Regions from separate parts of the Homo sapiens genome. Here regions 2, 3, 4, 5, 6 and 7 are each linked to region 1. The links are contacts of gene promoters, found by promoter capture Hi-C in human tissues and cell types (Jung and others, 2019). All regions are on one chromosome and are shown on one strand. The core of a region is centred on a gene start or on the middle of the fragment in contact, and the rest is flanking DNA. Distances in the headings are between cores, read along the strand shown. Region 1 holds the start of KIFC2 (kinesin family member C2). Region 2 holds the start of RPL8 (ribosomal protein L8). Region 3 holds the start of ZNF7 (zinc finger protein 7). Region 4 overlaps ZNF250 (zinc finger protein 250). Region 5 overlaps ZNF251 (zinc finger protein 251). Region 6 overlaps ZNF251 (zinc finger protein 251). Region 7 holds the start of COMMD5 (COMM domain containing 5).

Region 1 (3,211 bases), core at 47-2,546:
ATGTTAGGAGAAGTTCAGTCCTAGACTTTCCGGATCCCTGAGGCCACTGCACACACCTGTGGAGAAGAAGAACCTAATTCAGCCGGGAAACGGGGGAAAACGACTCAGGGTCTAAGCTGGGGGGAACGTCAGCCCTGGGGCCCTGGAGCCCAAGTGGGAGTGCGGGCCTGGGGAAGAGAGAGCGGCGAGGCGCTGCAGGCCCACGCGGCGGCCTCGGCCTGCTCCCTGCGTTCCGGGAGGCGTTGTCCTGGGAACCCGGGTCCAGGAGGAGCGACGGCGCAGGACTCCGGGAGGCCAGCCGTGCGCAGTTACCGGGCTGCGCGGTCCCAACGCAGCGGCGAGCGGGAGGCCCGAGCCTGCGCAACGCACCGCCCACCGCCGTCGGCCCTGCCTCCTCTGCCGTGCCCCCAGTTGCGGGAGCGAGCGCGGTCGGGAACCTCCACCAGCGAGAGGAGCGGAGGCTAGAGCGGCCGGGCGGGGCTAGAGCGGCTGGGGGGGGAGGGTCGAGGCCTGGGGGAGAGGGTCGAGACCTGGGGGGGGCCGGTTGGAGGCCGTAGGAGCGGGTGGGGTCGGGAGGAGCTCGGGGACCAGAAAACGCTCTGTTTGGGTGGGTGCGTGCGTGGGCATAGTGGTTTGGAAGGAGCGTGATGAGGGGAGAAGGGCCGGGGCGGGGCTGCGAGGGGCGGGGTCTGGGCGGGGCTGCGAGGGGCGGGGGGTCTGGGCGGGGCTGAGGGAGATAAGGTTTAGGCGGGGCTGAGAGCGGCGGGTCTGAGAGGGAGGGGGCCTGGGTGGGGCGGGGCCTGGGCGAGGATGCGATGGGGGGGTCTGGGCGTGGCTGCGAGGGGCGGGGCCTGGGCGGGGCTGCGAGGAGAGGGGTCTGGGCGAGACTGAGAGGGACCGAGAGGGGAGGAGCCTGGGCGAGGCTGCAAGGAACGGGGTTTGGGCGGGGCTGCGAGGAGGGGGGGTCTGGGCGGGGCTGAGATGGGCGGGGCTGAGATGGGCGGGGCTGTAGGGAGAGGAAGGAGAACCCCGGCGTGTTGAAGGCTCCGCGAAACCGGAGCGGTGGGGGACTACGCGGAGGGTGGGAGGGATTCCGAGAGGAGGGTCGCGGGAGCCGTGGGCGCTCTCAGCCCGGTGTCCGCGGTGTAGGGGTTGGGGCGCGCCGGGCGGCGCCGTGAGAAACGGCGGGTCTCCAGGTGCGGCCGCGGGCACCTGTTTCTAGTACCCCCGTCCCCGCGCTCGCCTTCCAGCCGTGGGAGCCGGGCCGTGGGGGCGGCCGTCGCGAGCATGCGCACCGGCACTGCGGCGGGCGGGCGCCGAGTCTGGGCGCGGGGACGCGGGGCGGCGCGAAGCGGGGCCCTCTGCCGCCCCGCGCTCCCATGTACGCCTTTTACTCGTTGCTCATCTACATCTTCTACAGCCTCTTCCGCAGGGATGGTGGCGCCGCGGCGGCCGCGGAGCCCGGGGACCCCGCCCAGGTGAGCGGGGCTGGCCGTGCAGCCCGTCGTCTCCCGCCGCCTGCCCCACCCCCACGCCGAGGTTCCCGGGGCGGGGGCGGGCACGGGGCGCGGGGCGACGGGGCCGTGCCGAGGACCCTCGGCTCGGCCCCGATGCTGGAAGCGTAGACTTCGGCCCCAATCCTCCGGCCCGGTTCGCGGAGGGAAGGGGCCAGCAGGCTGCCTGCCCCCCTCCTCAGGGGCGCCCCTGCCCCCTCCCTAGAGAGCCCGCAAGCCCCGGGGTCGCCGGCGCCCAGACCTGCCCGCGCCAGAGCTGTGGACCGAGCTGACCGGCCTGGCCGGTAGGTGCGGGCTGGGAGTCCCGCGGTGCGAGGGCGGTGCCGGGACCTCCCAGGGAGGGGCGGAGGCCTGGCTCAAGCACGTGACCCGAAATGTCTCCCGCCCTCCTCCCTGACCGGCAGCCAGCTCCGAGCCTGAGGATGGGTCGGAAGGCGCAGCCGAGGGCCGCGCGGCCGCGGTGTCCCTGGAAGAGGCCCTACTGCGCCTCGCCGAGTTCCTCTCCGTCCAGCTGGGGGCGGAAGAGAGCTGCGGGGGCCCGGCGGACCTGGGCCAGGTGAGCGCGGCGGAGGGGGCTGCTGGCAGGTACCACCTGCCCCGGCCTTCCTGGCTTTCACAGCCCTGCTCGGATTCTTGTCTCCTTCGCAGTCTGGCGAGGTCCCCTCACTGTTGACAGTGACCAGTCAGCTCTTGGCCCTTCTGGCATGGCTTCGAAGCCCCAGGGGGAGGCAGGCCCTGCTCCAGGGGACTCAGCCAGCCCCTCGGGTCCGGCCCCCCTCTCCAGATGGTGAGTAAAGGACAGTAAGTTGAAGAAGAACTCTGGAGGGAGCAAATCCCGGTAGAACCTGGGCGGCCTGGAGTTCGGGGTCATGTTCCGGAAGATTTGGACTAGAGACCTCTTCAGTGCTAACTGGGCCCACCCTACTCCAGGATCCACATCCCAAGAAGAAAGCCCTTCCCACTTCACCGCAGTCCCAGGCGAGCCACTGGGGGATGAGACCCAGGGACAGCAGCCCCTCCAGTTGGAGGAGGATCAGAGGGCGTGGCAGCGGCTGGAGCAGCTCATCCTGGGACAGGTGAGGTCCCTGGAGCCAGAAGGGATTGCCGGCTGGGACGCCAGAAAAAGGAGGTCCACCCTGTCTCTCTTACTTCTCCCCAGCTGGAGGAGCTGAAGCAGCAGCTGGAACAGCAGGAGGAGGAGTTGGGTCGACTGCGCCTGGGCGTGGTGAGGCTGCAGGGAGACCTGGCAGGGCCGGGCATGGAGGGGGTGCTTCAGGTGAGTGCCGAGGTTTCCTCTCCACCAGGGGGCGACGGACTCAGAGAAAAGGGTTCAGCATCTGACTCTGGAGAACGAGGCCCTGAAGCAGAGCCTGAGTCTCATGCGGGACCTCCTGCTGCACTGGGGCCCCGGGCCCCCCATCAGGGCTCCGCAGGTACTCTGCTCCCGAGCTGCAGCCGTTCCTGCAGCCTGGGGCTCTTGCACACCTGGCATGCAGCCACAGGGCCCGAGCCTCCTCAGGACCTCCCGGGATGGTCTGTGTAGGGCAGCCCCATCAGGGAGGCTGATGCCAATGGGAAGACCCCCCTCTCCGTGGCCCCTCTGAGTGGCTGACCCCAGGAGAGCAGAGGGACTGTGGGAAGGAGGTCTGCGTGGAGCTGGGAGGCATGGGTTCACAGCCAGCTCTGCCCACCTCTTG
Region 2 (2,863 bases), core at 24-2,523, 330 kb after region 1:
GACAACTGAGACTACAGGATGAGCTCAAACTTACAGAACCCAAGTTTTAGAACAACAGGTAATCGAATTCCAGGGACCAAGTCTAGCCACTGGCTGTCCACCGGCACTCACAGCATGTTCACCCACAGCCCTCAGCATTCAACTGCTGCCTGATACTCACCAACCACAGCTCTGTTGGCTGAGGAGATAACCTTCTTGGAGCCGGAGGGCAGCTTCACACGGGTCTTCTTGGTCTCAGGGTTGTGGGAGATAACGGTGGCATAGTTCCCTGATGCCCGGGCCAGCTTGCCACGGTCTCCAGGCTTCTCCTCCAGGCAGCACACGATTGTACCCTCAGGCATGGTGCCCACAGGGAGCACATTGCCAATGTTGAGCTGGGCTGCAAGGGGAAGCAGCATCAGGCCGTCAGCACAGTAAGAAACAATGCGAACCCCCTCGCTCTAGGCAACCCGCGAAGTTGCGAGCACAGCATTCAACATCCAGCCTCCCGGTACAACTCTCTCGGCACCCACCGGTGGCCACTGGTCTGGCCACGCGGATGTCCCCACCTGAAGCTTCTGCCTGCGAGGTTCCCATATCGGCTTAGGACGTTAACTCCTCAGGCAACACCCAGACCCCTCCCCACCCCGACCTTCCTTCCCCGCCGCGATGCTAACCCTTCTTGCCGCAATACACAAACTGGCCCGTGTGAATGCCCTCGGCGGCAATGAACAGCTCCGTCCGCTTCTTAAACCGATACGGATCCCGGAAGACCACCTTGGCGAGGGGCGCGCCGCGGCCCGGGTCGTGGATGATGTCCTGTGGGCAGAGGCGGCGTGAGTGCGGCGTTCCGGCCGGGCGTCCCTTCCCCTCCCGCCCCGGCCAGCGTTCCGCACCTTGACGATGCCCTTGATGTAGCCGTGCCGCTCAGCGAAATCCACGGCGCGCAGGCGCGCAGCGCCTTTACGGTGCTTCACGTGCGCGCGGAACACAGACCCGGCGCCCTTCCTCTGTCCACGGATCACACGGCCCATGGCGACGGGTCCTGGGGGCGACTCACGATTAGCGCGGCCGGGCGGCCCGGGTACCCCCGCCAGCCCGGCTTTCCGGGACCCCGCCCCCGAGGCCGCCGCGCCCACCACTCCCTACCCTCTCCGCGGGCGCCCGCACCGGCATCCTCTCAGGAGGGCCGGTCCGGGTCTCAGCGCGCCTCACGGAAGAGGATGGCGGCGGATACTGCCCATGCCGCAAGGCCGCAAGGATGACCTACCTGTTCACCAGCGCGGCCGAAAGAGGAAACACGGCGTCAGCGAGCGGCCTTATCTTCCGGGGCGGGGCCCAGGGCCGCGACACCTTCCGGGCGCGCCACGGCCAGCCTAGCGCGGTGCACGCCGGGGCTTGTAGTCACCAGCGGCCGCCGGCCCCGCCTACTTCTCCTCCTCCAGGGCCCCCGCGCAGGCGCACCAGGAGACGCGGCTGAAGGTGTCCTGGTGTGCGTGGGCTCGGAAGGAGGGTGCAGGAGTGCTCGGCTTTCACCGGGGTCTCCGGGAGGGCAGGTGTTTTCTGAGTGGCCGAGGAGGCGCCAAGTGGTTGAGTGACCTGTCCAGGGTGTCACAGAGCGACCCACTCCGGGCCACGGGGTCTGGGGCTCCCGGCTTGCCTGGTGAGGGGCTTCCGTGTAGGCCGAGGGGGTTCTCGCTGGTGCAGAGCAGGAGATGGGCAGGGGAGACGCGTGGACCCACTCGTGGAACGTCATGGTTTGCAGGTGGCAAATGTCCGTCTCCCTGATGAACGGGCGCTTCTGGACGCGGGGACCTTATCCACTGTAGGCCCTTGGAGAGGTCGGGCGTCGAGGAGAGGAGCCCCGGGATCCTTGCCGAGGGTGAGGGCCGGCCGGCCCAGGAAGTGGGGAGGGCCAAGCTGGAGGGTCCCGGGTCGAGGAAGAAGGAGCGGGGATGGGCTGGGTCACATGCTGCGGAGTGGACGAATAATGGGAGACTGGACCGTACCCTGACCAGAACCCTGTGCGGGAGAGGTGGGGAAGGAGCAAGAAATGGAGGCTGGGAGGGGCTGTGGGGGCCTGAGCTGGAAAGAGTCAGCCCGACTGGGGGTGTCCTGCGGTACGTGCTGTGGAGAGGGGCTTCGCGGAATCGGGCCCCTAACGGGTGGGACCCCGAGGCCGCGGGTGGGGGATGGTGGGGAAGAGGTTTTCCAGGAGAGAGTCCCTGGCTGAGTGAGCACTGTCGAGCACACGCGAGGCCGTGGGTGGGGAGGCAGCAAGGAGGTGAAGGCGGGGGTCCCAGTGGGCGGGAGAGGCTTGCTGTCGGTACTGGGAGGTGGGGTGTTTCCTAGACCCTGCAGGGGCTGAGGCAGGGTTGACATCGTGAGAAGGAGACAGGAGAGGGTGGAAGGGTGTCCTGTGCCCGCTGTTGCTCACAGGGGAGAGGAGGGGCTGCTGCAGGAGGCCCTCCCCTAGGGTCGGCAGGGGGATGGAGGAGGAGCTGCCCGGTGGGGACTCAGGAAGCAGCACAGCCCACAGCTAGGGCCAGGGGCTGAGGGGCAGGACTGGACCCTGGGGGCAGGGTGAGGGGTTCTGGGGTCAGCCCAAAATTGGCCCACAGGCCCAGCCTGTCCGTCACTCCTGAACAAATCTGCTTCTCTGGAGGAGCAGAAGGAGAGTTGGGTGCGGGATAGAGGTGAGAAGAGTGCTTGGACACACAGGCTGTGGGGTCCCCAAGATGGTCTCACGGGTCTCTGGGATGAGATGCGGCTACCAAGACCCTACGTGCAGCCAGGAGACTGACCAGGCCGCTTTAAGGCTGGAAGAGACATGGCCCTGCCAGCATCCACCTGACAGTCCTGAGGACTGTGTGACTGGGCTCAG
Region 3 (2,998 bases), core at 284-2,783, 360 kb after region 1:
AGCATAAGCACCGTGACCATGTGAGGGCCTGAGTGTGCCTGGCTTTGGAGGGTCTGCTTGCTCAGTGGCCTCTAGACTCAGCCGGGCAGTGGATGCAGTGGATGGAGGAAGCCCCCTCGCCCCAGACAGGACCTCAGGGCCTCAGAGCCCTGGCATCTGCACCCTGGACACAAGGAAGGTGCCTATGAGGTGGATGCTCTAGCCAGGCTTTCTCCCCCTCCTGCTCCTGTGTTACCCTGGTGTGCCCCCCTCACCTGCAGCAGGCCAGGTTGGGGCATAGGGTTGCCGGCCCCTACCAGCCCTGGGGGTCTGGAGGGCGGCTGGGGAAGCAGACCCCCTGTCCTTCCCTATCCTTCGCGACATGCTCCCTGAGCAGCTGCAGTCCACTTAGATGACCAGAGAGGATGTGGGGCTGAGGGAGCCGAACTCGGGGCAGCAGGGGCGGGGGTGGGAGTGCCGGGATCATCCGCACCGGGAGAGGCGAGGCCGGCGTCTGTTTTTCACCTGGGCCTCCCTGGGGGGCTGGGGGCTGCCTGACTCTTCCCTCCTTTGGTTTGCGCAAGTTTTCCCGCGCGGGTTCGGATCAACACGCCGGGGGAGCCCGGCTTACGTCCCTCCTGGACCCCCGCCCCGTTCTTCCCGTGGGGAGGGGCGCGTCAGGCGGACCTGGCACCCTCCGGCTGCTGGGCTTCGCCGGGAGCCACGCGGGGAGGTCCAGGCAGTCGGGACGCAGGCAGCGTCCTCGCCGAGGCTGCGAGTCCGTGGCCGTCCGGGGGAGGCGCGCAGGCTCTGCCGGACGCAGAAGGAACCCGAAGGAGGCGGGGTGGAGGGCGGTGCGGGGCCGGGGAGGGGCGAGGCGAGTGGCGAGTGGACGCCGGGCCCGGCCTCGGGCAACTCCGAGGGGCGCCCTTCCTCGGGGTCCCGGAGGCTCTGCGACCCCGCGGCCGCTCCAGCCGCTCACTGGGGACAAGGCCCGAGCCAGGCGTCTCCGCGAGGCGGGGTCCATAGCGCGCCCAGCAGGCGCCTCCTGTCGCAGGGACGCGGGGGAGCGGCGCCTGAACAGCCTCGGTGGGAACCAGCGCCCGAAGCTGGTGATCCGGGGTGCGCAGGGCCCAACCGGGCGATCCCCTGGATCTCCGCCAGCCTCGCCCCGACTCCGCTCCTCCCACCCGCCAGCGAGTCCGCAACTCCCGGCCCCGGCCCGCGTCCCCAGCTCCAGGCCCCGGCCCCGCCCCGCCCCTGCTCAGGCACCGCCCACTCCGGGCTCTGGGCCCTCCTCTCCCTCGCGGCTCCGCCCCCTGCCCGCCTCTGACTGTACCCCGCCCCCAGGCGCCAGCCCCGCCTATCTGGGCTTCTGGTCCCGCCCAGGTTCTTGTCCCTCGGGCCCCAGCCTCGCCCCTCCTCGGCTCTGACTCCACCCCTTCTCCGGAGCCTGGGAGGCGGGGCTGAGAACCACAGAGATGGCCGGGCCTCCGAGCGGCCCAGGGCGGCCGGAAGTTTGCGGGGCGGGGCGGACGCGGGTGGCCAAGGCCCGTTTCCGGCGGCGTCGCGCGTTTGCGAGCCTCGGGTGGTCCTCAGGGAGGGTGAGTCGGCGCGGCGGGCGCGGACTCGGGTTGCCCTCGGTCCGAGTGATCCCTGGTCGCTTCCTTAGCCCTCCCGCCTTCGGCATTGGGGTCCCCGCGTCCCCCGGGCCTCCAGGCGGGAAAGCGCGGGGGCTTTGCGGGGCCTTGAGCGCCTGGTGTGGGAGGTGGTCGAGCCCAGCCACCCTCCCCCGCGGCGGCGCGAGGTGGGCTTCGTTTGGCCGAGTCTCGCAGCTCCCCGCAGACCCCGCTCGTGGCGGCCACGGTGTCCGGGGCCTGAGTAAGGCGAGCTCCAGCTGCGGCCTTTTCTTCAGGCCTGGGTCTACTCCCGGGGCCCTGACTCCTCCTGCGAAATCACCTCCTTCTAGAGCCTTTTCTCTTTCTATTTATTGCCCCGGAAGGCCTAGGATAAGTGACAGTGGAGGAAGGAACGGTGCCTTGGGTGGGGTAGGCTGTTTGTCTTCTCTAAATTCTGGTTGCTATTCCGGGCATTCCTACTGTCAGGAGCCAGGTGGGGGGATCAGCCTACCTGTGCCGGTGACCTGGGGCTTCCACCCACAAACCACTTTCTGGGCCAGAAGCTGCCATACGAAGACTCTTTTTCCCATTCCGACCTCCCGGGGGAATGCCTGGGCAGGTAGAGGGTCTGGGGTCATTGGCTTAATTGAGGTGAACGATTTATATCAGATTACATCCCTGTGCCTGGTTCCATCCTGGCGACAGGTGAGCTGGAGACTGGAATTTATGTACTTGAGGGCAGGGGTTTCCATGTCCACTCTTGTCTTCCCTACAGTTTGTCATTTTTGCTCCTGCCTTCTCCAACCTCCAGTCGCTCACTGCCTTCCCCAACCTCCAGTCGCTCACTGCCTTCCCTTGCTGCCGGGAATTTACCCACACTGGTTCATCCAACCCCATTTCTTCTTGCTTCAGGCCCTTTCACATGCTATTCCTGCTGCCTGGAGTGCTCTCTCCACCTCCATTACCTTGGCCGAGGTCCCTGGGGAAGTGACCCATTACACTGAACGTTCTAGTCTAAGTGGCTTTCATAGTTCCCTGTACTTGAGCGCTGTCGTGGTTGCAGTGTGCTTATTTGTGTGGTTATTTAACTCTTTCCTCCGCCAGACTGCTTCGTGAAGGCAGGGTCCTCGTGTCCACTACTGTATCCCCATTACTCAGTGCCTGGCACGTGGCATCCACTTCTTACGGCTTTGTGGAGTGAGTCACACATGCCACACACACATACACTCTAAAGAGGAACAAGAGTTCAGTGGGCCTCCTTCACTCAAGTGCCATGGCTGCTTCAGCCCAGCCCCATGTCCCTGCTAGAGAAATCTGGGGCTGGAGGTAAAGGAGCAGAGAGCACAGTACCCCCTTGATTAGCCTGGAAGTTGGGCTTCTGGCACCTTGACCTCTAATCC
Region 4 (2,946 bases), core at 400-2,899, 430 kb after region 1:
CTGCCTGCCTCTGAAGAACAGGACAGGGAAACACAGTTGGAGAGAGACTGACTTTCAACCCTCCCCCGTGCTGCTGTTCTCCAAAAATGCCCATTCCCTCCAAATGTGTGTGTGAGCACACTTCTGTGTTAGCGCAATGCAACTCTAATTAGAATTCCAACAGAAGTCTTTTAAAGGAATGACTACAACTACTTGAGAATTCATAAGAAGAATGGATGCTAGAGAATAGCCAAGAATTTAACTGGAAAGAACAGAGGGTGGGGACTGCCTTGCCAGGAATCAGAGCCAAGGGTGGGTAGGAAGCCGCTGCAATTAAACCAACAAGTTGTTGACAGAGGAACAGATGAAGCCAGACAGGTATGTGGGAAATTGGAAGATAACAAAAATGTTACATTTTAGTTCAGCAGGAAATCAGTGGTTCCTTTAGTAACTTGTGTGTACCCAGATGGGATACATCAATAACCAATTTTTTTGTTTGTTTTTTTTTTTGAGACAGAGTTTCACTCTTGTTGCCCAGGCTGGAATGCAACGGCGAGATCTCGGCTCACCGCAACCTCCACCTCCTGGGTTCAAGTGATTCTCCTGTCTCAGCCTCCCAAGTAGCTGGGATTACAGGCATGCGCCACCATGCCCAGCTAATTTTTTTTGTATTTTTAGTAGGGACAGGGTTTCTCCATGTTGGTCAGGCTGGTCTTGAACTCCCGACCTCAGGTGATCCGCCCGCCTTGGCCTCCCAAAGTGCTGGGATTACAGGCGTGAGCCACCGTGTCCAGCCACCAATTTTTTTTTTTTTTTGAGACGAAGTCTTGCTCTGTCACCCAGGCTGGGATGCAATGGGGTGATCTTGGCTCACCGCAACCCCTGCCTCCCAGGTTCAAGCAATTCTCCTGCCTCAGCCTCCCGAGTAGCTGGGATTACAAGCACCCACCAGCACGCTCGGCTAATTTTTTAAATATTTTTAGTAGAGATGGGTTTTCACCATCTTGGTCAGGCTGGTCTCGAACTCCCGACCTCAGGTGATCCACCCGCCTTGGCCTCCCAAAGTGCTGGGATTACAGGCATGAGCCACCACGCCCAGCCCAACAATAACCAATTTTGGATTAAGATGAAGACCAAGTGTGAGCATTAACAGTGGCCTCATGTGCTCCTGGTCCCCCTGTCTGACATCTGCCTACCCTCAAGGGCAGAAGTGCCTTCTCTCCTGCCACACCCTGACCCTTTCCATGGGTCACCCACCAGCGCACAGATCTGCCATTTCTTTATTTTGAAACAGAATCTCGCTCTGTCACCCAGGCTGGAGTGCAGTGGCATGATCTAGGCTCACTGCAACCTCCGTCTCCCAGGCTCAAGCGATCCTCCTACCTTAGCCTCCTGAGTAGCTGGGACTACAGACACCTGCCTCCATGCCCGGCTAATTTTTGTACTTTTTGTAGGTACGGGGTTTCACCATGTTGCCCAGGCTGGTCTCGAACCCCTGAGCTCAAGTGATATGCCCCTCTTGGCCTCCTAGAGTGCTGGAATTACAGGCTTGAGTCACTGCGCCTAGCCCTGCATGCGAATTTGACCTTGGGTGAATGCACAGCTCTGGTCCCCTGGAAACCTGGCAGAGGTGGATGGTCATTCTCTCTACGGACCAATCACACCTGGGCTGTGACTCAATGATGAACAACCACAGGAAGTACATTCAGGGCCTCCCTAGCAGGTCTTGCAGCCAGTTCTCTTGACACAGGAGGTGCTGGCTTGTATGACCACGAGGCTTTCGACTAGGCTAACTCCTCCTCCTACCTGCATCTTGTGTTTATGCACCTCAGTACTCCCTGGATGGCTGCTGGATGATGCTGGCCAGCTTTTCCGAGAAGCTGCTGCTAGGCATGGTTGTCCTGTGAGTCTGAAAAGTCAGTTGAGCCCAGTAGCTCTTTTGGTACACTTGAGCTCGTGATCCCCCTTCCCTCTGACTCAACCTTTCAATATGGGTGTCTCATAGCATCTCAGACATTTAACATCCCAAACCAAGCACCCCCTCTACCATCATTTCTACCCCCAGCTTGGTCTGTGAGCCTGTGCATCAGCCTCCTTCCTTCTTCACTCCCACACTTCTATTCACCTTCCAAGCACATCCAGAACCTGACCATGTTGCCCATCTCGCCCTCCCTGCCCCATGACAACCACCCCTAGATGTTCGGCAGCTCCCATCTGGGCAGACAGACTCCCAGCACCGTCTGTCTGCCCAGCCCCTCCATCTACCTTCCTGTGAGAACACAGTGACTGTCCTCTGCTCCAAGGTCCTCCCAGGACCCCACTGGCTCCTATGGGCATGCCCCAAACTTTGTGATTTTCCTCAGAGCCCTGCAGCCCTTTATCCCTTGGCCTGTGCTCCCCATCCAACTCTTAGAGACCTCTGCCCCACCCACCGCAGCAGCCCTGGCCTCACCCAGCTCTCATCCTATCCCTTTCTCCTGCACCAGCAGACCAAGAAGCAGGCCCAACAGAGTAATCAGTGGTCGACCTTTTTTTTTTTTTTTTAATTACTTCTAGGCTAATGATTACAAATTGCCAGGCAATGTACTTTTTTAAACTTTTAATTAATTTCTTAGAGACGGGGTCTCACTTTGTAGTCCAGGCTGGAGTACAGTGGCTCAATCACAGCTCAATGCAGCCTCCAACTCCTGGGCTCAGGTGATCCTCCCACTTCAGCATCCCAAGTAGCTAGGAATACAGGTTGCACCACCATGCCTGGATAATTTCTTAATTTTTTTTTTTTGGTAGAGACGAGGTCTTGCTGTGTTGCCCAGACTGGTCTTGAACTCCTAGGCTCAAGGGATCCTCCCTCCTTGGCCTCCGAAAGTGTCAAGATTACAGGCCTGAGAACACCACACCCGGCCTGTTTGTTGAATAAATGAATGAAGAGGAATGAGCTCACACTTTATGCCATCTGTAATAGCCAAG
Region 5 (2,763 bases), core at 115-2,614, 260 kb after region 1:
TGAAAATCTATTATTCAGTGTAGCCACCTTCATCAATCATCTTAGCTAGGTCTTCTGGACAACGTGCTGCAGCTTCTCCATCAGCAGTGGCTGCTTCACCTTGTGCTTTTGTTATGGAGACTACGTCTTTCCTTAACCCTCATGAACCAACCTCTGCCAGCTTCAAGGTTTTCTTCTGCAGCTTCCTTACCCCTCTCAGCTTTCGCATAATTGAAGAGAGTTGGGGCCTTGCTCTTGAGGCGAAGCTTTGGCTTAAGGGAATGTGTCTGGTTTGATCTTCTATCCAGACAGTTTGAGGGGGACTGAAACTGTCTCCATATCAGCAATAAGGCTGCTGTACCTTCTTGTCATTCATATGTTCACCAGAATAGCACTCCCAATTTCCTTCAAGAACTTTACTTTTTACTGTTATTTTCTTTTTGAGACAGGGTCTCACTCTGTCACCCAGGCTGGAGTGCAGTGGTGTGATCATAGCTCACTGCAGCCTCAAACTCCTGGGCTCAAGCGATCCTCCTGTCTCAGCCTCCTGAGAAGCTGGGACTACAGGCTTGATCCACCACGCCTGAAGAAGTTTTGCTTTGCATTCACAACTTAGCTAACAGACGCAAAAGGCCTGGCTTTGGCCTGTCTCAGTTTTCACCGCACCTTCCTTACTAAACTTGGTCATTTCTAACATTTGCAATAAAGCGAGAGGTGTGTGACTCTTCCTTTCATTTGAACACTTATAGGCCATTCCAGGGTTATTAATTGGCCTAGTTTCGATATTGCTGAGTCTCAGGGAATATGGAGGCCCTAGGAGAGAGAGAGGGAGGTAGGGAATGGCTGATCAGTGGGTCAGGACAGCCAACACTCATCGATTAAGCTCACCGTCTCATACAGGCAGAGTTCATGGTGCCCTTGAAACAATTACAATAGCAACATTAAAGATCGCAGATCACAGAGCACCATAACAGATATAAAAAAAAGGTTTGAGGCCAGGCGCAGTAGCTCATGCCTGCAATCCCAGCACCTTGGGAGGCCGAGACGGGCGGATCACGAGGTCAGGAGATCGAGACCATCCTGGCTAACATGGTGAAACCTCATCTCTACTAAAAATACAAAAAATTAGCCGGGCGTGGTGGTGGGCGCCTGTAGTCCCAGCTACCCGGGAGGCTGAGGCAGGAGAATAGCATGAACCCGGGAGGCGGAGCTTGCAGTGAGCCGAGATCGCGCCACTGCACTCCAGTCTGGGCGACAGAGCAAGGCTCCGTCTCAAAAAAAAAAAAAAAAAGGTTTGAAATACTGCAAGAATTACCAAAATGTGACACAAAGAAGTGAGCACGTGCTGTTGAAAATGGCACTGACAGACTTGCTCAACACAAGGTCGTCACAAACCTTCAATTTGTAAAAAAAAATGTTCGCCAGGCGCAGTGGCTCGCACTTGTAATCCCAACAGTTTGGAGGCCCAGGGGGGCAGATCACCTGAGGTCAGAAGTTTGAGACCATCCTGGCCAACATGGTGAAACCCTGTCTCTACTAAAAATACAAAATTAGCCAGGCATGGTGGCGCGCGCCTGTAATCCCAGCTACTTGGGAGGCTGAGGCAGGAGAATCACTAGAACCTGGGAGGCGGAGGTTGCAGTGAGCTGAGATCGCGCCATTGCACTCCAGCCTGGGCGACGAGCAAGACTCCATCTATGGAAAAAAAAAAAAAAAAAAAGCAGCAGTATCTGCAAAGCCACAACAAAGTGAAGTGGAATAAAATGAAGTGTGCCTGACCTATATTCATGTTAAAATTTAAAAATACGAGTTTACTCCTAAAGCTCCTGGTTATAAAAGTCAAAAGAAAAATTGGGATAAAAACGAAAACAAAATTTTATGTCATTTTCTCCATGCGTAGTGCCCTTTTAGCAAGCATATAAGATTCCTTTTATTTATTTATTTTTATTTTTTTTTTTTTTTTTGTGAGATAGAGTCTTGCTCTGTCGCCCAGGCTGGAGTGCAGTGGCGCAATCTCGGCTCACTGCAAGCTCCGCCTCCCGGGTTCACGCCATTCTCCTGCCTCAGCCTCCCGAGTAGCTGGGACTACAGGCGCCCGCCACCACGCCCGGCTAATTTTTTGTATTTTTAGTAGAGACGGGGTTTCACTGTGTTAACCAGGATGGTCTCGATCTCCTGACCTCGCCATCCACCCGCCTCGGCCTCCCAAAGTGCTGGGATCACAGGCGTGAGCTACCGCACCCGGCCTAAGATTCCTTTTAAATGCCAGGGTCCTCCCTGATGTCTCATATCAACGTAACTGCCCGCTTAAAAATAGATCTCTTGGGATGGGCATGGTGGCTCGCGCCTGTGATCCCCGCACTTTGGGAGGCTGAAATGAGAGGAGAGCTTGAGCCCACGAGGTGGAGGCTGCAGTGAGCTGAGACCGCACCTCCGCACTCCAGCCTGGGCAGCAGAGTGAGACCCTGTCTCTGAAGAACCAAAACCAAAACAGATCTCTCATCAGGCTATCAACAGGTTACATGTGTTTTTTGTGACTACTCAGATAAAGATGTTCAATTGTAACAGTTTCTCAACATTGCAGGCAGGGCTGAGCCCACCCAGGGCTGGCGTTGTTCCCAGGAGCGGGTGCCCTCACCCACCAACTCGAGGCCGCTCACTCACTGTGCAGCTGTATGGCAGGCCCAGCAGTGCCTCTCCCTTCGTACATCACCAGAGTCGGCTGAAAAGTGCCAAAAGAGAACTCAGGAACCAAACAGGGAAGTGGAGAGCCATGTTTTATCC
Region 6 (3,193 bases), core at 404-2,903, 280 kb after region 1:
TGGCTCATGTCTGTAATCCCAGCACTTTGGGAAGCCGAGGCGGGCGGATCACCTGAGGTCAGCAGTTCGAGACCAGCATGGCCAACATGGCAAAACCCCATCTCTACTAAAAGTACAAAAACCAGCTGGGCGTGGTGGCGGGCGCCTGTAATCCCAGCTACTAGGGAGGCTGAGGCAGGAGAATCACTTGAACCCAGGAGGTGGAGGTTGCAGTGAGCAGAGATTGTGCTACAGCACCCCAGCCTGGGTGACCAGAACGAGACTCCATATGGAGGGGGACGGGGAGCGGGAGGGGAAGGGGAGCGGAGGAAAGTTACTGTTTTAAGCACTCAGCTTGTGGTTTTAAGTCTGAGCAGAATAAGACACATTTTAAGTTAATTTTTTGTGATGGGTGTCTAGATTCTTTTTTTTTTTTTTTTTTTGGCACGTGGATGTTCAGTTATTCCAGCACCATTTCTTGAAAAGATCATCCTTTCTACATTGAGGTGTGTTTGTTCCCTTGTCAAAGATCAGTTGCATATGTTTATGCAGGTTTTTATCTGGGCTCTCTGTTCTGTTTCATTGATCTATTTTTTCTGTTTTTTGACCAATACCACACTGCCTTGATTACTGTGGCTTTATAGTAAAAGTACTGAAATTGGGTACTATGGGTCCTCCAACCTTGCTCTTCTCTTTCAATATTGAGTTGACTATTCTGGGTCTTTTACCTCTCCTTATAAACATTACAATCAGTTTGCTAATATCCACAGAATAACCTGCTGAGTTTTTTTCGTTTTTTAGAGACAGGGTCTTGCTCTGTCAGCCAGGCTGGAATACAGTGGCATGATCATAACTTACTGAAACCTCAGACTCCTAGGCTCAAGCAGTCCTCCCACCTCAGCCTCCCAAATAGCTGGGAATATAGGCACATGCCACCAGGCCTAGCTAACAAAAAAAATTTTTTTGTAGATATGGGGTCTCACTATGTTGCCTAGGCTGGTCTTAAACTCCTGGGCTTAAGCGATCCTCCTGCCTTAGCCTCCCAAAGTGCTGGATTATAGGCATAAACCACCACACTTAGCCCCTGAGACTGTGATTGAGATTGTGTTGAATCTGTAAATCAAGCAGAGGACTGACATCATGATAATACTGAGTTTTCCTCATGAACAGACTATCTCTTCATTTATTTAGCTCTTCTTTGATATATTTTTATCAGTCTTGTATTTTTCCTCACAGATTTTGTACATATTTTGTTAGACTTACACCTCAGTATTTTATCTTTAGTGGTGCTAATGTAAATAATGTGTTTTTAACTTCAAATTCCACTTCTTCGTTGCCAGTATAAAGGAAAATGTAGATTTTCTGTAGATGCTCTCTATCAACTTGAGGAAGTTCCTCTCTATTCCTAGTTTGTTGAATTTGTAATCATGAATCGAGGTTGGATTTTGTCAAATGCTTTCTCCGCATCTACTGATATGACCACATGATCTTTCTTCAGCCTGTTGATGTGGTACATCACATTACATTAATTTATTTCCTAATGTTGGACCAGCCTTGTAAACCTGGGACAAATCCCACTTGGTCATGGTATATAATTCTTTTTATACATTGTTGGATTTGATTTGCTAATATTTTGTTGGGATTTTTGCATTTATGTTCATAAGAGGTGTCTGTCTGTAGTTTCCTTTTCTTGTAATGTCTGTTTGGTTTTGGCATTTGGGTGGATAACACTGACCTCATATGAGTTAGGAAGTATTCCCTCTGTTTTTATTTTCTGGAAGAGATTATAGAGAACTGGTATAATTTCTTCCTTAAATGTTTGGTAGAAGTCATAAGTGAACCCATCTGAGCCCAGTGGATTCTATTTTGGAAGGTAATTGTTGATTTGACTTATTTAACAGACATAGCCCTATTCAGATTGTCTATTTCTTCCCGTGTTTGGGAGATTGTGTACTTCAAGGAATTGGTTCATTTATCAAATTTGGGCACAGAGTTGTTCATCTTTTTTTTTTTATTACCCTTTAAAAGTCTGTGGGACATCTCTGTAGTGATGTTCCCTCTTTCATTTGATATTAGTATTTTGTGTCCTCTCTCTTCTTTGTCTTAGTCTGGCTAAAGGTTTACTGATTTTATTGTTTTTTCAAACCATCTTCTGGTTTCGTTGATTTTCTCTATTGATTTCCTGTTTTCCATTTCATTGATTTCTGCTTGAATTTTTATTTCTTTTCTTCTGCTTACTTTGTATTTAATTTGCTCTTCTTTTTCTAGTTTCCTAGAGTGAAAGCTTACATTATGATTTTAGATCTTTCCCATTTTCTAATACATGCAGTCAATGCTATAAATTTCCCTCTAAGCACTGCATTCACAGCATTCCACAAATTTTGGTAAGTTTTATTTTCATTTTCACTTAATTCAAAATATTCTAAAATTTATCTTGAGATATCTTCTTTGACTCGTGTTATTTGGAAGTGTGTTATTTGCCAAGTACTTTAGGATTTTCTAGCTATCTTTCTGGTTTCATTTCTAGTTTCATGTCATTGTGGTCTGAGAATAGACATTCTATGTTTTCTATTCTTCAAGTATGTTAAAGTGTTTTGTGGCCCAGAATGTGGTCTATCTTAGTGAATGTTCCACATGAGCTTGGCAGGAATGTGCATTCTGCTATCGTTGGATGAAGCAGTCTACAGATGTAAATTATTCCCAGCTGACTGATGTGATGGTGCTGTTAAACTCAACTGCATCCTGCTGGATCTGTCCATTTACGATAGAGGGTGCTGGATCTCCAACTGCAGACAGTGAACTCATCTATTTCCCCTTGTAGTTCTATCAGTTTTCGCATCACATATTTTGTTGTTGTTGTTTTTTGAGACGGAGTCTCGCTCTGTTGCCCAGGCTGGAGTGCGATGGCGCGAATCTCGGCTGACTGCAACCTCTGCCTCCTGGGTTCAAGCAATTCTCCTGCCTCAGCCTCCCGAGTAGCTGAGATTACAGGCATGAGCCACCACGCCCGGCTAATTTTGTATTTTTAGTAGAGATGGGGTTTCTCCATGTTGGTCAGGCTGGTCTCGAACTCCTGACCTCAGGTGATCCACCCGCCTCGGCCTCCCAAAGTGCTGGGATTACAGGCGTGAGCCACCGTGTCCAGCTGGTTTTGTGGTTTTTAGAGATAGTGTCTCACTCAGTTGCCCAGCCTGGAGCGCAGTGACGTGATCAT
Region 7 (3,035 bases), core at 17-2,516, 390 kb after region 1:
AATCTTGAATCCTTCACAACAGTGGGCAAGAAGAATTACCATTCTCACCTGACAGAGAGGGAGATAAGGCTCTAGGCCAGGTGCAGTGGCTCAAGCCTGAAATCTCAGCACTTTGTGAAGGTGAGGCCAGCGGATCGCTTGAGCCCAGGAGTTGGAGACCAACCTGGGCATCATAGCAAGACCCCGTTTCTACAAAAAATTTAAAAAACTAGCCAGGCGTGGTGGTGCACGTCTGTAGTCCCAGCTACTCAGAAGGCTGAGAGGACAGAGGATCCCTTGAGCCCAGGAAGTCGTGGCTGCAGTGAGACGAAATCGAGCCGCTGCACTCCAGCCTGGACAACAGAGATGCTGTGAGGAAGGAAGGAAGGAACGAACGAATGGAGGGAGGGGGGAGGGAGGGGAGGCAGGGAAGAAGAAAAGAAAAGTAAAAAGAAATCAAAGCTCTAAACACAGCTGCCAAAGTCAAGGACTGAAGCCTAGACCTGTCTATTCAGAAGTCCCAGCTGTTTCCACCACAGCCCCAACCCCCGGGCTGGAAGAGCTGAGCAACGGCTGGCAACAGAGGCAAGTGCGGCAACTAAAGAGGGTTCCGACGCACCTGAAGGAGCAGTGCAGCAGCACAAGCACCTGCTATGCCAGAGGAAACGCACGTGCCCACCTCAGCACACCAGGTACTGGAGCAGAGCTCAGCGGGGCACAGCTCCTGTCCTCGAGGCACTTGTCAGGCCACTCTGCACAGCGCTGGGGGAGCCCAGGAGCTCCCCACGGGCTTCACGGCGCCCCATTCTCCCTGGGAGTCAACGACCACCCACTGCCAACTCCTTCACCGTCCCGCCAGCACCAGGAGCTCCTTCCCACTCCAAAGAGCCATCCGGGAAGGCCTCCGAGCTGCCCGCTTCCGGTCGCGCGGCTTGGAAGGCCGGGTTCGCACCCTGACTCCGTACCCGCGGCTCTGATGGGGGCGCGGCGTCGCCCGTTCCGGGGCGCGGGGACCTTGGTGCACAGAGTCAAATTGGCACTCGGCCGTCGCCGCCCCCACGGTTCGGGGCCAACCTACCGGCGGGCGCTCCTCCGCGGAAAAGCCCCGCAGTATCCAGAGCTCTCCGAACACAGCGGCGAAGCAGCCTTTCCTAGGCCCACACCCCCAGCTCGGGAGGGAGACTCCATCCTACTCCACCCCACGCTCCCGCTGTCCGAGTCGCCCCCAGCACCTGGCGCCGGCAATCCCCGGCTGATGCAGCCAAAAGCGGGCCTGGTCCCCGGAAGCGCCCTGAGAGCCACTTCCGGGCCGCTCTAGGAAGGCAGCAATGACCGCCCCACTGTGGTCCGCTGGCCCGAGGGGCGGAGCCGAGGCCGCGCCAGGTCCCGCCCCCTCCCCGCCCGGGGGAATCGGGGGTCGCCGGCGGGGTCCCAGACCTCGTCTTAGACAGTTTTTTTTTTTTCTTTCCCCAAAGAAAAAGAAGGCGGTGTTGTGTTTCCGTTTCTGAGGTAGAAACTGCGGCCTGCGCCCGCGTCTCCCTCCCCGCCCGCGCAGAGTGAGGGTAAAGCGGGAGAACGCGTCCCGTGGTCTGGGGTCAGAATTCCAGTCACCTGAGGCTGAGGAGCTCGCTGGCTTTCGTCGGCGTCCGGGTGGGCGGCGGGGAAACCGCGAGACCTTGAGGATCAGCGCGGAGCGGAGCCGAGCGGGCGTCCCTGTCCCGTGTGGACGGTCTGCGCCTCCAGGGTTTTGAGAGCTGCCCCGTTTCCCCTCCTGTCGGGTGGCGTCCGGCGCGCGTGACTCGGTTCCGCTTTGGGCTGCTCTGTTGGGCCCTAGCGCAGGAGCTCGGTCCGAAACAATGGCCGAGCCATTTTATTTAACATGTACTTTACCATAGTTAAAAAATAATATGCCAAAATCATTGAATTGTACAAAATGGGTGAATTATATGGTATGTGAATTATAGCCCAATAAAACTTAAAAAAAAAAAAAAAACTCTGAAAAGGGAAACAACCTAATTAAATGGGCAGAAGATGTGAGTAGACATCAAGGAAGATACAAAGTGGGTAATGGGTACATGAAGCCTTCGGCATTGTTGGCTATTAGAGAAATGCGAATGGAAGCCACGGGGAGGTGCCATTTCATACCATTAGAAGGGTTATAATAAAAATGACAGGTTGGGTGCGGTGGCTCACGCCTGTAATCCCAGCACTTTGGGAGGCGGAGGTGGACAACCAGATCTCAGGAGAACTCTATCATGAGACCATAACTTAAGGGCATGGTACTAAACCATTCATGAAAAGCCACCCCCACGATCCAATCACTTCCCACCAGTCTCCACCTCCAGCATTGGGTATTACCTTTCAGCATGAGGTTTGGGCGGGGACACAGATGCAAACCACATCAGCCATACAATGGAATAGTGTTCAATAATAAATAGGAGTGGAGACTGGGTGCAGTGGCTCATGCCTACAATCCCAGTACTTTATGAGGACTAGGTGGGAGGACCACTTGAGGCTAGGAGTTCAAGACCAGCCTGGGCGACATATCAAGGCTTCATTTTTACAAAATTAAAAAAAAAAACAGGTGTGGTGGTGTGCACCTATAGCAGGGGTCCCCAACCCTCAGGCTGTGGACCGCTACAGGTCAGTGGCCTGTTAGGAACTGACCTCACAGCAGGAGGTGAGGGCAACCTATAGTCCCAGCTATTTGAGAGGCAGAGTGAGGACCACTTCAGTTCAGGAATTTGAGACCAGCCTGGGGAACATGGCAAGACTCCATTTCTAAGACAAAACAAATCAAGTCTAAAAACCATGCTGAGGGAGGATTGTTTAAAGGGAATGGATCTGGGAAGTTTAGAAAGAGACTGCATCTGTAAGGTGTTATTTCTCTTTAAAATATCTGAAGCAAAAAGGTGAAGTGCTATCACTTGTGAGGTCTGGGCGGTGGTTACGTGGCAGACCCACCCCCTCCTGAAGTGAGGAGAGCCAGGAACCTGGGGGTGAGTTTTGGAGACAGTTCCCACCCAAAGGCCAGAGTGCCTGGAGTGCCTGGAGAA

The links. Contacts are between HindIII fragments. The study calls those that stand out against the background at their distance.
Region 2: the fragment with the promoter of RPL8 here is called in contact with the fragment with the promoter of KIFC2 in region 1 in 4 of the 25 tissues and cell types used here (IMR-90 fibroblasts, lymphoblastoid cells, mesenchymal stem cells and 1 more).
Region 3: a contact is called between the fragment with the promoter of ZNF7 here and the fragment with the promoter of KIFC2 in region 1, in 2 of the 25 tissues and cell types used here (lymphoblastoid cells and spleen).
Region 4: a contact is called between a fragment that was not itself captured here and the fragment with the promoter of KIFC2 in region 1, in 1 of the 25 tissues and cell types used here (lymphoblastoid cells).
Region 5: a contact is called between a fragment that was not itself captured here and the fragment with the promoter of KIFC2 in region 1, in 1 of the 25 tissues and cell types used here (dorsolateral prefrontal cortex).
Region 6: a fragment that was not itself captured here is called in contact with the fragment with the promoter of KIFC2 in region 1 in 2 of the 25 tissues and cell types used here (small bowel and spleen).
Region 7: a contact is called between the fragment with the promoter of COMMD5 here and the fragment with the promoter of KIFC2 in region 1, in 2 of the 25 tissues and cell types used here (H1 embryonic stem cells and lymphoblastoid cells).

Annotation. Positions count from the first base shown.
Region 1 is chr8:144,465,041-144,468,251 of GRCh38, forward strand. It overlaps KIFC2 (kinesin family member C2), which reads left to right and starts at 1,297. Exons shown (of 18, transcript NM_001369769.2): 1 at 1,297-1,478; 2 at 1,720-1,798; 3 at 1,919-2,070; 4 at 2,163-2,301; 5 at 2,445-2,590; 6 at 2,674-2,739; 7 at 2,819-2,947. The coding sequence starts at 1,380. It overlaps TMEM276-ZFTRAF1 (TMEM276-ZFTRAF1 readthrough), which reads right to left and starts at 661. Exons shown (of 5, transcript NM_001408018.1): 1 at 531-661; 2 at 1-56. TMEM276 (transmembrane protein 276) reads right to left here and starts at 452. Exons shown (of 3, transcript NM_032687.4): 1 at 313-452; 2 at 1-56. RefSeq lists silencers at 171-400, 451-710, 781-910, 971-1,530, 1,581-1,890 and 1 more and enhancers at 1,664-2,500, 2,191-2,290. The HindIII fragment of the contact is 34,202 bases long and covers 1-3,211 here.
Region 2 is chr8:144,791,117-144,793,979 of GRCh38, forward strand. It overlaps RPL8 (ribosomal protein L8), which reads right to left and starts at 1,274. Exons shown (of 5, transcript NM_001317782.2): 1 at 876-1,274; 2 at 657-798; 3 at 161-379. The coding sequence starts at 1,013. It overlaps MIR6850 (microRNA 6850), which reads right to left and starts at 875; the gene lies at 815-875. RefSeq lists a silencer at 976-1,195 and an enhancer at 2,366-2,863. The HindIII fragment of the contact is 17,129 bases long and covers 1-2,863 here.
Region 3 is chr8:144,826,027-144,829,024 of GRCh38, forward strand. It overlaps ZNF7 (zinc finger protein 7), which reads left to right and starts at 1,534. Exons shown (of 5, transcript NM_003416.4): 1 at 1,534-1,583. LOC100130027 (a long non-coding RNA gene) reads right to left here and starts at 1,014. Exons shown (of 5, transcript NR_147501.1): 1 at 1-1,014. RefSeq lists a silencer at 725-1,854 and enhancers at 1,186-1,711, 1,712-2,237, 2,238-2,763. The HindIII fragment of the contact is 13,991 bases long and covers 1-2,998 here.
Region 4 is chr8:144,892,083-144,895,028 of GRCh38, forward strand. The region is part of intron 1 of ZNF250 (zinc finger protein 250); the gene reads right to left. Among named protein-coding and RNA genes, the nearest start is that of ZNF250, 7.9 kb to the right of the region's middle. The HindIII fragment of the contact is 7,783 bases long and covers 1-2,946 here.
Region 5 is chr8:144,727,410-144,730,172 of GRCh38, forward strand. All of the region lies in intron 4 of ZNF251 (zinc finger protein 251), which reads right to left. Among named protein-coding and RNA genes, the nearest start is that of ZNF251, 27 kb to the right of the region's middle. The HindIII fragment of the contact is 6,507 bases long and covers 1-2,763 here.
Region 6 is chr8:144,744,786-144,747,978 of GRCh38, forward strand. All of the region lies in intron 4 of ZNF251 (zinc finger protein 251), which reads right to left. All of the region lies in intron 1 of LOC107986986 (a long non-coding RNA gene), which reads left to right. Among named protein-coding and RNA genes, the nearest start is that of ZNF251, 9.1 kb to the right of the region's middle. The HindIII fragment of the contact is 9,429 bases long and covers 1-3,193 here.
Region 7 is chr8:144,851,782-144,854,816 of GRCh38, forward strand. COMMD5 (COMM domain containing 5) reads right to left here and starts at 1,267. Exons shown (of 2, transcript NM_014066.4): 1 at 1,058-1,267. RefSeq lists enhancers at 482-1,330, 908-1,237, 1,788-1,887 and a silencer at 1,308-1,497. The HindIII fragment of the contact is 6,847 bases long and covers 1-3,035 here.